Regions from separate parts of the Homo sapiens genome. Here all the other regions are linked to region 4. The links are contacts of gene promoters, found by promoter capture Hi-C in human tissues and cell types (Jung and others, 2019). All regions are on one chromosome and are shown on one strand. The core of a region is centred on a gene start or on the middle of the fragment in contact, and the rest is flanking DNA. Distances in the headings are between cores, read along the strand shown.

Region 1 (2,700 bases), core at 53-2,552, 130 kb before region 4:
ATTTTCTTCAGGCTTCCTTATTTAGCATTGGAGATGGTTTTAAATAGGCAGGTGGTTGTTGCCATGGTTACCCCATTACACCAGCGGCTAAACTTAGGAAAGGCCGCAAGGCATAGGAAGAAAGCTTGATACCCAGGATTTGGAAATGTAAACGGCATTATCAAACAAGGCCTATTTTACTCAGCTGAACTGAGGTTCTCCAAAGAGTAGTTACTGCTTGGCCGGAAGCCTTTACCATTACTGCCCAGGTTTGGACTCTCAGGGATAATCTTGAGGTTAAATCTTGGGAGTTGTCATTGCTGTGTTTTGTTCTGTTTTGTTTTGTTTTCAGCAAGGGAGAGTGACTAGTCAGGTCCGGAACACTTACCAGGAAACCGGAATCATTCACGTTGCTGATTCCCTTTTCTTGGCTATTCTAACAAGAATTCTTAACCTGGGATCCAAGGGCTTCAGGGGTTTTGAGAACACCTTGAAATTGTACTAAGGTACTGAATGTATTTTTCTGCAGAGAATGTCCATAACTATCAGAAGATTCTTAAAGGAACCTATACTCCCAAAATGTTTAAAAGTCACAGGTCTGAGGCCTCTTTGAATCCTAAGAGGCATCAAATTATGACTCAAATGTTGGGGTTTCAGGAAATTCTTCCTCCATGGCCTCTCTAGATGGGTTGTTGCCAGGGAAGATAGTGGGTTCCAGAAAACCAAGTTATGTTCTCTGATGGAATAGTTTCATTAATGGAGCAAGAACCAGAACCGAGGAGGCAGGAATACGAGCCATGTATGATGGGCAAAAAAGAAAAGGCCTTTAACGGCAGAGATGGGGTTATTTTTGGCCCTGTCTACCTCCTAGTTATCAATAGGCTAATCATTAATTGCTAATTGAGGAATGTTAGGGAGATTATCGTCTCACTGTTGGCATAAAGAACAAAAGAGAAATTTGATTCAACTGAGATTCTAAAGTGTTTGAAAGTGATCTGGAATAAAGGGCACATAAGATGTGGCCCCTGCCTTCAAGGAAATCGTCGTCTAGCAAAAGAAAAGGAAAAATAGTGCTCAAGTATTCTTTACAAAATTATTTTAACATACAAGGTGGTTACATTTCATAGGTGATATAGTATACAGGAAGTCGTATAATATGTAAGAACTTATTAATGGTCATATCCCAAACATCATTTGCAAATGGATTGTTTTCTTTTTGGGGGATGTTTTTGGTCTTTTTTTTTTTTTTTTTTTTTTTAGAAAGAGTCATTCTGTCACCTGGCCTGGAGTGCAGTGGTGTGATCTTGGCTCACTGCAACCTTTGCCTCTCAGGTTCAGGTGATTTTCCTACACAGCCTCCTGAGTAGGTGGGATTAAAGGCACACACCACCACGCCTGGCTAACTTTTCTTCCTATTTTTAGTAGAGATGGGGTTTCACCATGTCAGCAAGCCTGGTCTTGAACTCCTGACCTCAAGTGATTTGCCTGCCATGGCCTCCGAAAGTGCTGGGATTACAGGTGTGAGCCACCACTCCTGGCCAAATTGGTTGTTTTAGGTGTAGCAATAGTGTTAAAGGGGAACCTGACTAAGAACTGTTTTCATTTTTTTAGCTCCTCCTAGATGCCAAGTGGTGAACTAGGGTCTTTAAATACATTAAATTATTTAAATCACAAAACAACCTTTCAAGATAAATATTAGCATTCCCATTTACAGATAAAGGAACTGACACTGGAAGAAACCAAGTCAACTAACAAAAGTCATGTATTTTTTAGGCAGTGGGGCTAATTTAATTTCTGACCTAGCTCTTCACTCCAGAGTCCAAGCTCTGTTTGCCGCAACTGCTGTCTCACATAGATTTCATTGAGCAAGCACTGATGTATACCAGACACTCTGATAAGTACTTTATACATCATCCCACTCATTGCTCACAATAACATGCAAGGGTAAGTGCTACTGTCCCCATTTTAGAAATGAAGGAACTGAGGCTAAGGAGGATGGAGCTGTCATTGGCATCATCTGCCTTTATGGATTGTCTCTGTGGGAAAATGCCTGCTGAGTTCCAAAGGGGAGGAGAACAGGTACACCATCCAGTCATACCTTGTATGGTGTGAGCATTCTCCCTGTTTCCACGTCCACAGCAAGGAGCAGGACTGGCTGTATGATCTGTGTGACCCAGTGCAAAATTAAAAATGTGAGGCCCCTTCCTCAAAAATGGGACAGCAAAGCATTAAACTAAGCACTGAGCCCTCTTAAGTGTGGGGCCCTGGAGTCCACATCTCACACCTATGAGGTGGCCCTGGCAAGGACAGAGGAATTAATAAAAAGAAGACACTTTTGCCAGTAGTCACAGAGTAGGGTGTTTGCAATAAAGTCAAAAGAATGGAGGAAAGAGGGTTTCAACTTAGGGAGAAGGAGAGGGACTCTCAGTCCCACAAACAGGCAGCAATCAGTACTAGCAGAGGAGCCAAGAATCCCGTCAAAGTCTTCCAGATAGCCAAAAACCAGCCCACCATGAAGTTTCCAGATTAAGTCTCCATGAAGGGTTTTGCATATGAAATCTATACATAAAAGCCACCTAATTCTAATGTCACTGTCAGTGAGTGTCTAGAAAGAGAAGTCTAACTGTGGAATGTTTTCATTGTTGGTTAGAAACTCAGAGTACTTGCGGAATGTGTTATTCTAAACCTGTTGAGTGTATCCACTTGACCGCGTCTCTCAGC
Region 2 (2,700 bases), core at 28-2,527, 170 kb before region 4:
CACACACACATGCTTCCATTCAGATGTTTCTTGCTTTTAATATTTGCTAATTTTTAAAACACACACACAAAAATTTTGTTTTTATTTGTATTTAAAACAGTAAAAAATATCAATAACTCATCTTCTAAATGAGATGAAAAGGAAGAACATGCAAGAGGCAGCCCCTGGCTTCCTCCATCTCAGGGCAGCCAGCTTGGGGTCTCACCTCCTATTACCCCTGCAGGGCTCCAAGGGGGATGGGCGGCACGCCTGGACCATGAAGCACTTCAAGAAACCAACCTACTGCAACTTCTGCCATATCATGCTCATGGGCGTCCGCAAGCAAGGCCTGTGCTGCACTTGTGAGTAAATTTCCTTCAAACCTCTTCCCCCAGGCACTATCTTGCTCTGCGCATGGTTGGTTGATCCATTGCAGAGAAAATGTTGGTATTTCTGCTTCCCAGCTTGAGGGACCACCCATATTGTCCCAACAGAAGGAATAAAGCGAGGCCTTCATGTCCTGTTTTTACCCTACCCAAGTCCAATGGACAGGTCTTGGACTATTTATTATTGGAGGCTTTTTATGAGCCACTGACCCCCTAGAAGAAATTATTAAAGTCCACAAATAATTTAAAATTTCTCATACTACTTTTAGTTGGGTTTTCTAGTCAATATTTATTCTGGGTATGTTCAGAGGAAACTTATTTTTTAAAAATTAATAAGCATTTGGGGCCAAGTACGGTGGCTCACACCTGAAATCCCAGCACTTTGGGAGGCAGAAGCAGGTGGATTGCTTGAGGCCTGTAGTTTAAGACCGGCCCTGCCAACATGGAGAAACCTTGTCCCTACTAAAAATACTAAGGTGCTGGAAAGGATGTGGAGAAATAGGAACACTTTTACACTGTTGGTGGGACTGTAAACTAGTTCAACCATTGTGGAAGACAGTGTGGCGATTCCTCAAGGATCTAGAACTAGAAATACCATTTGACCCAGCCATCCCATTACTGGGCATATACCCAAAGGATTATAAATCATGCTGCTATAAAGACACATGCACACGTATGTTTATTGTGGCACTATTCACAACAGCAAAGACTTAGAACCAACCCAAATGTCCATCAATGATAGATTGGATTAAGAAAATGTGGCACATATATACCATAGAATACTATGCAGCCATAAAAAAGGATGAGTTCACGTCCTTTGTAGGGACATGGATGAAGCTGGAAACCATCATTCTGAGCAAACTATCGCAAGATCATAAAACCAAACACCGCATGTTCTCACTCATAGGTGGGAATTGGACAATGAGAACACTTGGACACAGAGTGGGGAACATCACACACTGGGGCCTGTCGTGGGGTGGGGGGAGGGGGGAGGGATAGCATTAGGAGATATACCTAATGTAAATGATGAGTTAATGGGTGTAGCACACCAACATGGCATATGTATACACATGTAACAAACCTGCACATTGTGCACATGTACCCTAGAACTTAATGTATAATAAAAAATAAAAATAAAAAAATAAAAAATAAAAATACTAAAAAAAAATTAGCTGGGCATGGTGGCATGCGCCTGTAATCCCAGCTACTCAGGAGGCTGAGGTGGGAGGATCACTCGAGCCCAGGAGGCAGAGGTTGCGGTGAGCTGAGATTGCACCACTGCACTCCAGCTTGGATGACGGAGTGAAACCCTGTCTCAAAAACAAAAAACAAACAAACAAAAAAAGCATTTTACATTCTGTAAAGGCAATAGGAATTAAAACTCTACAGTTGTTTCACTTTTTAATTCCTTTAGTAAAGTCAGAGTGGAAAGGTGGAAAAAACTACAAGTGGTAGAGGAAAAAGCAGAGAGGAAGACTGGAAAGGGAGACAGCAAAAAGAGATGGGGGAAAAGAGTGATAAGGAGTAGGAAAGAAGGGGACACAGGGAGCAGGAGGAGAAGGCAGAGGGGCTGCAGCAAGAAGGCATGGCAGGCACCAGAATATGTGGGTGCACAGAGCCCTGCCGCCCGCCCCGTGATGTGGACAGCAACACTCAGCCTGAACCCACCAGACACCGGGGAGCTGCTGCTGCAGGGAGGCCCGCTGGCTGTGCTCCAGGCTGAAGTGCTTTATCCAACATGCACGTGTGAATTAGGCAGCAAGTGACCTCAGCCACAGAAGTCGCCTTGGCAGAGCTGGGCCCGCTGTCCACAAAGACCAAGCATCAACGGGCTAAAGAAGGGGTCCGCCAGGCCTGGCGCGGTGATTCACGCCGTAATCCCAGCACTTTGGGAGGCCAAGACGGGTGGATCACGAGGTCAGGAGACCAAGATCATCTTGGCCAACATGGTGAAACCCCGTCCCTACTAAAAATACAAAAATTAGCTGGGCATGGTGGCGCATGCTTGTAATCCCAGCTACTCGGGAGGCTGAGGCAGGAAAATCACTTGAACCAGGGAGTCGGAGGTTGCGGTGAGCCGAGATTGCATCACTGCACTCCAGCCTGGTGAAAGGGTGAGATTCTATCTCAAAAAAAAAAAAAAAAAAAAAAAAAAGGGGTACAACAGTCTCCCCAGCGCCAGTTCAAACCCAGCTCTTACCCACATTTTATAGATCAATCTCATTCCCATTAAGTTCTAGGCCCGTGGGCCTCTGCTGTTCACATAATGGTAGTAAAAACAACAGCAATAATGTGTGGAATAGCTACTCTGACCCAGACACGTGATGCTTTACAC
Region 3 (2,700 bases), core at 199-2,698, 240 kb before region 4:
GAAGATGTTATAATAAAAATATAGGTAGCTGAGGCAGGAGGATTGCTTAAGCCCAGAAGGTCAAGGCTGTAGTGAGCCAAGATCGTGACATGGCACTCCAGCCTGAGTGACAGAGCGAGACCTGTCTCTAATTTTTTTTTTTAATTTAATTTACCGTGACACATGTGTACCTATGTAACAAACCTGCCTATTCTCCACATGTATCCCAGAACTTAAATTTAAATAATTTTTAAATAAAAAAAAATTTCCTGACATTACTTCAAAATAGTTAATGTGTACCAGGAAAAATTAAAAGTATATTCTGGTGAAAATTATTAATTATAAGAAAAAATCTGTTGGTATGAAAACAGAAAAACAATGTTTTATTTTCAGAGAAAAAATAAGCAAGTGTCAGACATTGTGCAACACTAAATATCAGAAATAAGTTGAGGTATGACTGTGGAATTTGGGGGTAGTAAGATAATGAACCAACCGGTGCCGTGGCTCATGCCTATAAATCAAGCACTTGGGGAGGCCAAGGCAGGCAGTCACTTGAGCCCAGGAGTTTGAGACCAGCCTGGCCAACATGGCAAAACCCCACCTCTACTAAAAATACAAAAATTAGCCAGGAATGGTGATGTTCACCTGGAGTCCCAGCTACTTGGGAGGCTGAGGTGGAAGGATCACCTGAGCCCAAGAGGTGCAGACTGCAGTGAGCCGTGATCACAGCACTGCACTCCAGCCTGAACAACAGTGAGACCCTATCTCAAAAAAAAAAAAAAAAAAAAGATTATGAGCCAGAATTCTCTATTCAGTAATTTGTACAGAAAAAAAAAAGCTATTCTCAGACAAGGAAAAAAAAAAAAAAAAAAGCACCCAGCAAGTAGGCCACTAAAATCCTTTATTAAAAAATGTATTTACTCAAACTATTCTGGTCAACAGAGAAATTAACATTAAAGCTTGGGAATGGAAAAGATGTGATATCAAAGCTGTGGCGTGAATAATAAACCCACACAAACATAGACTTAGTATTTACATGTTATTAATATAGTCAGGAAACAATGCAACTGCCAAAATTACTCTCAACAAAGAAGATACATAAGAAACTTAATGATAATAATGTGGGGCTAAAAACTCAGATTACTCAAGGCAAAAAACCTTGATGTGCTGAATGTCTCATTTTGTGCTGTGGGAAACATTGAATATTGTTTCATTGCTGAACACAGAAAAATACAGGTTTAAATACATTTTTAAATAAGAAGACAGTAGATGAATATAAAACTAGAAATACCATGCTTAACTTCAAAATTAGGAGGAAGATTTGGAACATTATAGCCAAGAATGAAAACTAAAAAAGGGCTGGGTGCGGAGGCTCATGCCTGTAATCCCAGCGCTTCAGGAGGCCAAGGTGGGTGGATCACTTGAGGTCAGGAGTTTGAGACCAGCCTGGCTGACATGGTGAAACCTGGTCTCTACTAAAAATACAAAAATTAGCCTAGCGTGGTGGTGGGCATCTATAATCCCAGCTACTCAGGAGGCTGAGGCAGGAGAACACTTGAACCCAGGAGGCAGATGTTGCAGTGAGCCAAGATTGTGCCACTGCACTTCCAGCTTGAGCAACACGGTGAGACTCTGCCTCAAAAAAAGAAAAGAAAAAAAATACGTAAAAAAGGAAATAGCAAGGAAACATTAATATAAAAAGTATAAAATAAGATGATAGAAGCCAGGTCAAACATACCACATTAAGTGTGAATGGTTTAATCATTTCCTTTTTTTTTTTTTTTTTTTTTTGAGACTGAGTCTCACTCTGTCGCCCAGGCTGGAGTGCAGCGGCTGTGGTCTCGGCTCACTGCAACCTCTGCCTCCCGGGTTCAAGCAATTCTCCTGCCTCAGCCTCCCAAGTAGCTAGGACTGCAGGCGCGTGCCACCATGCCTGGCTAATTTTTTGTATTTTTAGTAGAGACAGGGTTTCACCGTGTTAGCCAGAGTGGTCTCGATCTCCTGACCTCGTGATCCGCCCGCCTCGGCCTCCCAAAGTGCTAGGATTACGGGGGTGAGCCGCCCCGCCTGGCCAATCATTTCTATTAAAAGACAAAGAACCACGCATTGGTCAAAACCCAATTCTAAATATATGCTGTTTTAAACAAAATGGGAGAGAAAGGGATAAAAAATGAAGGGACATAGATATATCAGGAAAATGCAAACAAAAAGAAAGGAGGGTGATATTAGTATTAAACTATAGCTAAAAGTAAAATTTAATACAAAAATCATTAAATGATACAATAAAATTGTCAAAACACAATTGCAGAGGGAAAATCTAACATACATCTGTCAATCTGCAACAAATTGAGTGCCAAAAACAAATTAGTGTATAAAAGTTTTAAGGCTATAAGGAGCTTGATGGAATGGACATATATGGGACTTTACATTTAAGAAATGAAAAAATCTATTAAAATGTTTATGAAATATTGAGATATTTTGATCCCATCGTAAAAAAATTATGATACATTTCAAAAAATGTAGAACTTGTTCTGGCAGTAAGAGGCAAATAAAACTGAGTATAGTATAGTATAGTATAGTATAGCATAGTTACTCTAGGATAATCTATTCTTGAAATTTGATGTAGGTCTAAGACCTGTGTACATCCACTCACCATTATTGATTTCAGCATTCAGTGAGAACAAGACCAAAAAGACCTGTTGTTTGACAAGCACCAAGTTT
Region 4 (2,700 bases), core at 77-2,576:
CCTGTCACTTAGCATCTTTCCTCCCCACCGCTGGCACGCGGCGTGAATGGCAGGGCACTCCAGCAGGACGAGAACAGAGCTCCGTCACAGGCCCCCAGCATCCCCGGAGAGAAGATAGAGCCGCCCCACGGCCTTCACAGGAGGGGGTAAGGGGGCGGAGAGGGGAGAGGATTGTTTGTTTATTTGTTTCCTGGAACACCCTGTTAAGAATCTCAGCAATTGCAGTTAGTGCCCTATCGTTTGGCAAGCAGAGCCGCTTCTCGTCGTTCCCAGCTGCACGGGATCTAATTCGCAAATACACCATCTTGCATTCAATACTTAAATGGAAAACAAGCAGCCCGGGGAGGGAGGCAAAAAGTCTGAGTCTGCATGCCCGTTTCGGAGGGATTTAGGTTTCCAGGTCGGTGGACTGGCTGCTGCTGTCCCCGGAGAGGATTTCTTTGAGCCCGAACCCTGTCTCACCTCGACTACAGAACCCACTCTGGCGGAGGTTACGAGCCGCAGTTAAAGAGAAAACGGGATTTGGTTGGGTCTTAGGCCTTGCCAGTACAAAATAGTAACAAAAATCTGTTTGAGAGCTGAGATTTTAAAAGGAGATGCTGCTTATTCTTCCCACTGGAAACCTGGTTAAAAGAAATTAAGGCCTCTCTTAAAGGTAACTAAGATTAGAGGGCTCGGTTTCCGTTTTCTGTGTTTCTGTGGGCTAAACGCCCAGGTCGGTCAGCGAGTTTGTGTGGAATGACGAATTCCTCTCCCCTGAATTCTAAAATGATAACTTTGCTTGGTGCTGCAGCTGCGAACGTCTGGCGCCAAGAGACCCAATTCTGGTCGGGGCTTTGCTGGATGGAGAAGTGGGGGTGAGTGGGTAAGGGGGAAGAGTCGTGCCTCGGTGAAAAGTCGGGAGAGCGGCGAGAAGGGAAGTAACGGCGGCTCCTCCTGGCCTCGGCCCCTTTAAGTGCTTCACTGACTCAGCTAAGCTTCCCCCTCAGGTCGCGTTTTTTATGAATGAAAAACGTCCTTACATTCATTATATAAACAAGCCTGTGCTGATTGGCCAATGGCCCCCGGTGCATAAATTATGTAAAACAGACCCCTGAGGGGGTGGAGAGAGATGCACCGCTGGCCAATGGGGGCCGGAGTTGATGGGGCGGCTTGGTTGGATTTGCCCGCAGACAGGGTAAACAAGAGGTGATGGACAGCCGCGGGAACGGCCTCTGGCCAATGGGAACAAGGCTGGGCTAGGGCCGCGGGCCAATGGCGGCGGGCGGAGCAGCGAGCCGCGGGGGGCCGGGCCAGCGCTCCAGCCTGGTTGGCAGCTGCGGCGCAGAGTCCAGCCGCTGGTGCGCGGAGCGGTTCACCGTCTTCGGAGCGGTTCGGCCCAGCCTTTCGCCCAGGCGCCCAGGCCCGCTGCGCGCGTGCGTGAGCGCGCCTGCGCCGCCGGGGCCGCTGCAAGGGGAGGAGAGAGGCCGCCTCAGGTGAGGGGGCTTTGCGGGGGCAGGGGGGAGATCGGAAGGGGCGTCCGGCCACTGGTCCGACAGGCCCAGCCGGCTAGAGTTCACGGGCTGATTCAGAATCTTCAAAGTCGGGGTGCAGTAGCTGGGGTGACCCCCCCCGGGTTGACCGCCCCCTCCCCCCGCGGCCCGGTCCGGTTTGGTTCCTGGGAGGCGTCGGGCGGGTGCGGCTAACGGTTCCGGAGCGCGGGGAGAGCGGCTTTCCACACGTCGTGGGGGAGGCGCCCCGGAGCGCGAGTGCGGGGGCTCCCGAGTGGATGGGGGATCGCGGAGTTGCGAGGCTTTCACAGTCTCTGGAGATTCGAGAGCCCCGAGGGGACTTGGAGGCTCGCGAGAAGAGACGCTTGGCGGAGCTCCGCAGTTGGGAGGAGGGGGCGGGAAGCAGTTTGAGGGGAATGTCTGAGAGGCGCTGCCCCCCAGAGCACCGGGAGGGGGTAAATGACACAGGCAAGTGCAGCCTGCGGGGGCGGGGGTCGACCAGGAACTTACGCAGGCCTTGCAAGTTTCAGGTGGTGGAAAGTGGACATCCAGTCGCCCTGCTCCCACCCAGCAGGCTGAGGGCGTCCGGCTGTGCGGCGACTCGAGAAAATCGGGGCGCACCGGAACAGCGGCCTGGGGATGGTGGGGATAACACGGGTGTGGAGGGGACAGCACCGAAAGATGCTGCAGCCTCGCAGCGGATTAGGGTTCCGGCCGCATTTTCAGAGGGTGGAGAAAACTCGGGGGGGAACCGAACTCCTGGTCGACGAGGGGGTGCCAGGGAGAGATGTTGGGGGTGGGGGGATTGGAAGCGGTTGGTAGCGCCGGGCGCCGCACCTCGTTTTTATGAATGTGGGTGACTTTATGAATGAAGCGGGTTTCTTTCGTTGGCTCGCTGCTCCCTGCGGCTTTTTTTTTTTTCTTCCCTTTTTGTGAATGAAGCATTGAGCTTTCTTCCTAAAACGCTGGGGTGAGGGGCCTGCGTCGGAGGCTGGGCGTGCGTTGGAAATGGGGGCGGGGGCGCAGCTGAAGGAGTTTTCATGAATGGGGAAGGCTGAGAATTGGGTGGAAGTGTGTCTTGTTTTGTGAATGGGGCCCAGCGCTAGAGATCCAGTTACAGCCTCTACCTGATGTGGCGGCCGCGGCTCGCTCTCCCATTCATAAAACCGGGCCCGCTGCGCGCCACAGGGGAGGGGCCTGGATCGCGCCG
Region 5 (2,700 bases), core at 154-2,653, 220 kb before region 4:
CCATGAATGGATTAATCCATTCACTAGGGCAGTGTCCTCAGGACCCAATTACCTCTTAAAGGCCTCACCTCTCAATACTGCCACTTTGGAGATTAAATTTCAACATGAATTTTGGAGAGGACAAACATTCAAACCATAATAAACATTATACAAATAATCTCATAATAACCTTGGGAAGCATGTGTTAATATTTTCACCATTCCCATTTAGAGATGAAGAAGAACTTGCTAATGTCACACAGTTATATAGGATAGAGCCAAGATCTGAATTCTGGTCTCTAATTCCAAAGTCAGACTTGTGCTTGGTGCTCTGGGCAGAAGTCTCCCTGACACAGGGCATGAGTCTAGGGCAGACGCTTCCCCAGGTAGTAATTTCATAAAGGAGACCTCTACTCACAATCCCTTCCCTACATCAGCCCCTCAGCACTGGAGTTCAGAATCAGACTTTTCCATTGCTATTCACAACCCTGCTTCCTTAAATTTCCACTGTTAAGGGCCCCAAGTGGTGAAGCTGAGTGAACTCTCCCAGGATTCACAGAGGTGGCCCCAGGGCAAGAGCAAGGTTTTCTTTCGAAGTCCCATGTTTTGCCTACAAATTTCCTGGATATTTTGCATTCTATTCCATTCTGTGCTCATGTTTAATATAATATAGCTTTTCCTCCCTCAAATAATGTTGGCTTTTCAGGAACAGGCCATGGTTTTTATTCTGGCTTCCATTCCCCTTCCATGTTGAGGACCAGGGCGTGGCATCTCCACAGGTGGCTTATTAATGGCATCTGTACCTGCACAGGCTCAACACTTAGGTACTCAGCACTCATTCATCCAAAGATGTTACCATGAGCTTTGAACAACACAGACTTAGATTCCTATACAGTCTCATCATTTACTAGTAGGATAACTTGGGAGAATTACTCTGGGCCTGCTTCTACAGATGTTAAATGGGCATAAAACATACGTTCCTCACAGGGTTTGGTGACTATTACAGATGAAGTTTGCAAAGCGCAAGATGTGTTGCAATCTATAAATGGAGGTTGCTGCTATTGCTTGTTATTACAGTGATTTGTTGAGCAAGTGAACAAATGAATGAATGACCAATCCTCAGATTGTGATGCCCCTGAGCTACAAACACTCTTCTTAGACCAACACTGCCTGCCTGTGCCAAAGACAGACCCCCAAAGTAGCAGTCCTCAACTTCTCCTTGGAGCCCAAAAGCTTTTTCTGGGTACCAGCCACTCCCAGCTCCCCCACCTGGGCATTTGGTTCAGCCTGACATTTTCATGACTATCTTGCGGCAGAGATTCTCACATTCACTCTGAGGCCACTAATGGTGTACAAAGTACCTCTCAAATGAAAATCCTCTCTGAATTCTTATGGATAGAATGCAATCCCAAGACTTTTGTGTTTATGTTTATTTAAGGACTACATGCCAGTAATATGCTAAATGAGTTATTAGGTATTACTCATATTTACCACTCATAAACTTAAATTAGATCATTGCAAAGTTCCCCAAGGGCTTTAATTCAGTTATCTGTGAAATCAGGCTGCTTCTAAATGCTCAGCAGCTACAGCCCCCACACTCAAGTAGATGGTTAGAATCCTGTGACCTGGGGAAGGCCCCGTTGTTGTCATTGCATGTCAGTCTTGCTTTGAGTTGGTTGTGGTTTTCAGCTACTGCTATTCTTGCTTATTAATTAGAAATTATAGTTCACTTGACTTCATAATTATCATATTAGTTTGTGAAGGATATTTGGCTAACCCTACAGCAGGCAGTGATACATATTTGCATCGAAGGTATTTTTAGCCTATAATTTTCCAACTACTAGATTTTAAGACATGAATAAGTTGCAGTTCAAGCATGAATCATGCAGATTCTGTTGCCAAATAGACACATGCATAACCTGCCCCTAAAAGTGCTTGTGTAGTTGTCTTGGTTATCTACGATTACATAACTAACTGCCCCAAAATCTTGTTGCTCCACAATTATGTTATTCGTCTATGTGTTTCTGTGCATTGGGAATCCAGACCAGGCTGAGCGGGGATGGGTTATCTCTGCTCCACGTGTGATGTCTGCCAAGGCTGTGAAATCCCAAATGGCTTCTTGTCTCACAACACAGCTAGGATGACTTAGATGACTGGGTGCTGGCTGGAATGGCTTGACTGGGGTCTTACATCTTGGGCTTCAGTTCTTGTCATCAGATGGGTTGCTCAGTTCTCCTCTCTGTAATGTTAGATCTCCCTTCATCCACGTGGCCTCTCCATGTGGTCTCTATGTGATCTCTCCAGCAAAATGGCTGAACTTCTTACATGGCAGTTCAGTGCCCTTAGGAACTCAGAAGTGGGCCTTCTCAAGGCTTATGCTTGACACAGGCACAGCACCACTTCTAATGCACTCTCTTGGTTAGGGCAAGTTACAGGTGCAGCCCGGACTCAAGGGAAGAAACTAGAAAGGGCATAAATATCAGGAAGCATGGTTTGGGGGACCACCAATGTAAATGACGACCACAATAGTGACAGTTCATTGATAAATTCAAGCAACTTATGTAACTTACAAAATACTATCAGATTAAGCATAATAAAGTAACTTGATTATAAGTCTATATCTGTTATAACTTTATAACCCTGATAGCCTATACTTGTGTAGGTCATTATTTTAATATAAAATGTGAGTGTTGATGTATATTTTATGGTAAATTAAGTGACT

The links. The method cuts DNA at HindIII sites, captures the fragments that hold promoters and counts their contacts. A contact is called where the count stands out against the background at its distance.
Region 1: a contact is called between a fragment that was not itself captured here and the fragment with the promoter of ETV5 in region 4, in 6 of the 25 tissues and cell types used here (dorsolateral prefrontal cortex, hippocampus, lymphoblastoid cells and 3 more).
Region 2: a fragment that was not itself captured here is called in contact with the fragment with the promoter of ETV5 in region 4 in 1 of the 25 tissues and cell types used here (hippocampus).
Region 3: a fragment that was not itself captured here is called in contact with the fragment with the promoter of ETV5 in region 4 in 1 of the 25 tissues and cell types used here (hippocampus).
Region 5: a contact is called between a fragment that was not itself captured here and the fragment with the promoter of ETV5 in region 4, in 1 of the 25 tissues and cell types used here (spleen).

What each region holds. Positions count from the first base shown.
Region 1 is chr3:186,236,830-186,239,529 of GRCh38, reverse strand. All of the region lies in intron 20 of DGKG (diacylglycerol kinase gamma), which reads left to right. Among named protein-coding and RNA genes, the nearest start is that of DGKG, 120 kb to the left of the region's middle. The HindIII fragment of the contact is 7,185 bases long and covers 1-2,700 here.
Region 2 is chr3:186,273,188-186,275,887 of GRCh38, reverse strand. It overlaps DGKG (diacylglycerol kinase gamma), which reads left to right. Exons shown (of 25, transcript NM_001346.3): 10 at 224-341. Among named protein-coding and RNA genes, the nearest start is that of DGKG, 88 kb to the left of the region's middle. The HindIII fragment of the contact is 6,398 bases long and covers 1-2,700 here.
Region 3 is chr3:186,346,519-186,349,218 of GRCh38, reverse strand. The region is part of intron 1 of DGKG (diacylglycerol kinase gamma); the gene reads left to right. Among named protein-coding and RNA genes, the nearest start is that of DGKG, 14 kb to the left of the region's middle. The HindIII fragment of the contact is 4,747 bases long and covers 1-2,700 here.
Region 4 is chr3:186,107,715-186,110,414 of GRCh38, reverse strand. ETV5 (ETS variant transcription factor 5) reads left to right here and starts at 1,326. Exons shown (of 13, transcript NM_004454.3): 1 at 1,326-1,475. RefSeq lists silencers at 1,014-1,643, 1,674-1,773 and enhancers at 807-1,785, 2,544-2,603. The HindIII fragment of the contact is 3,753 bases long and covers 1-2,656 here.
Region 5 is chr3:186,330,161-186,332,860 of GRCh38, reverse strand. The region is part of intron 1 of DGKG (diacylglycerol kinase gamma); the gene reads left to right. Among named protein-coding and RNA genes, the nearest start is that of DGKG, 31 kb to the left of the region's middle. The HindIII fragment of the contact is 7,911 bases long and covers 1-2,700 here.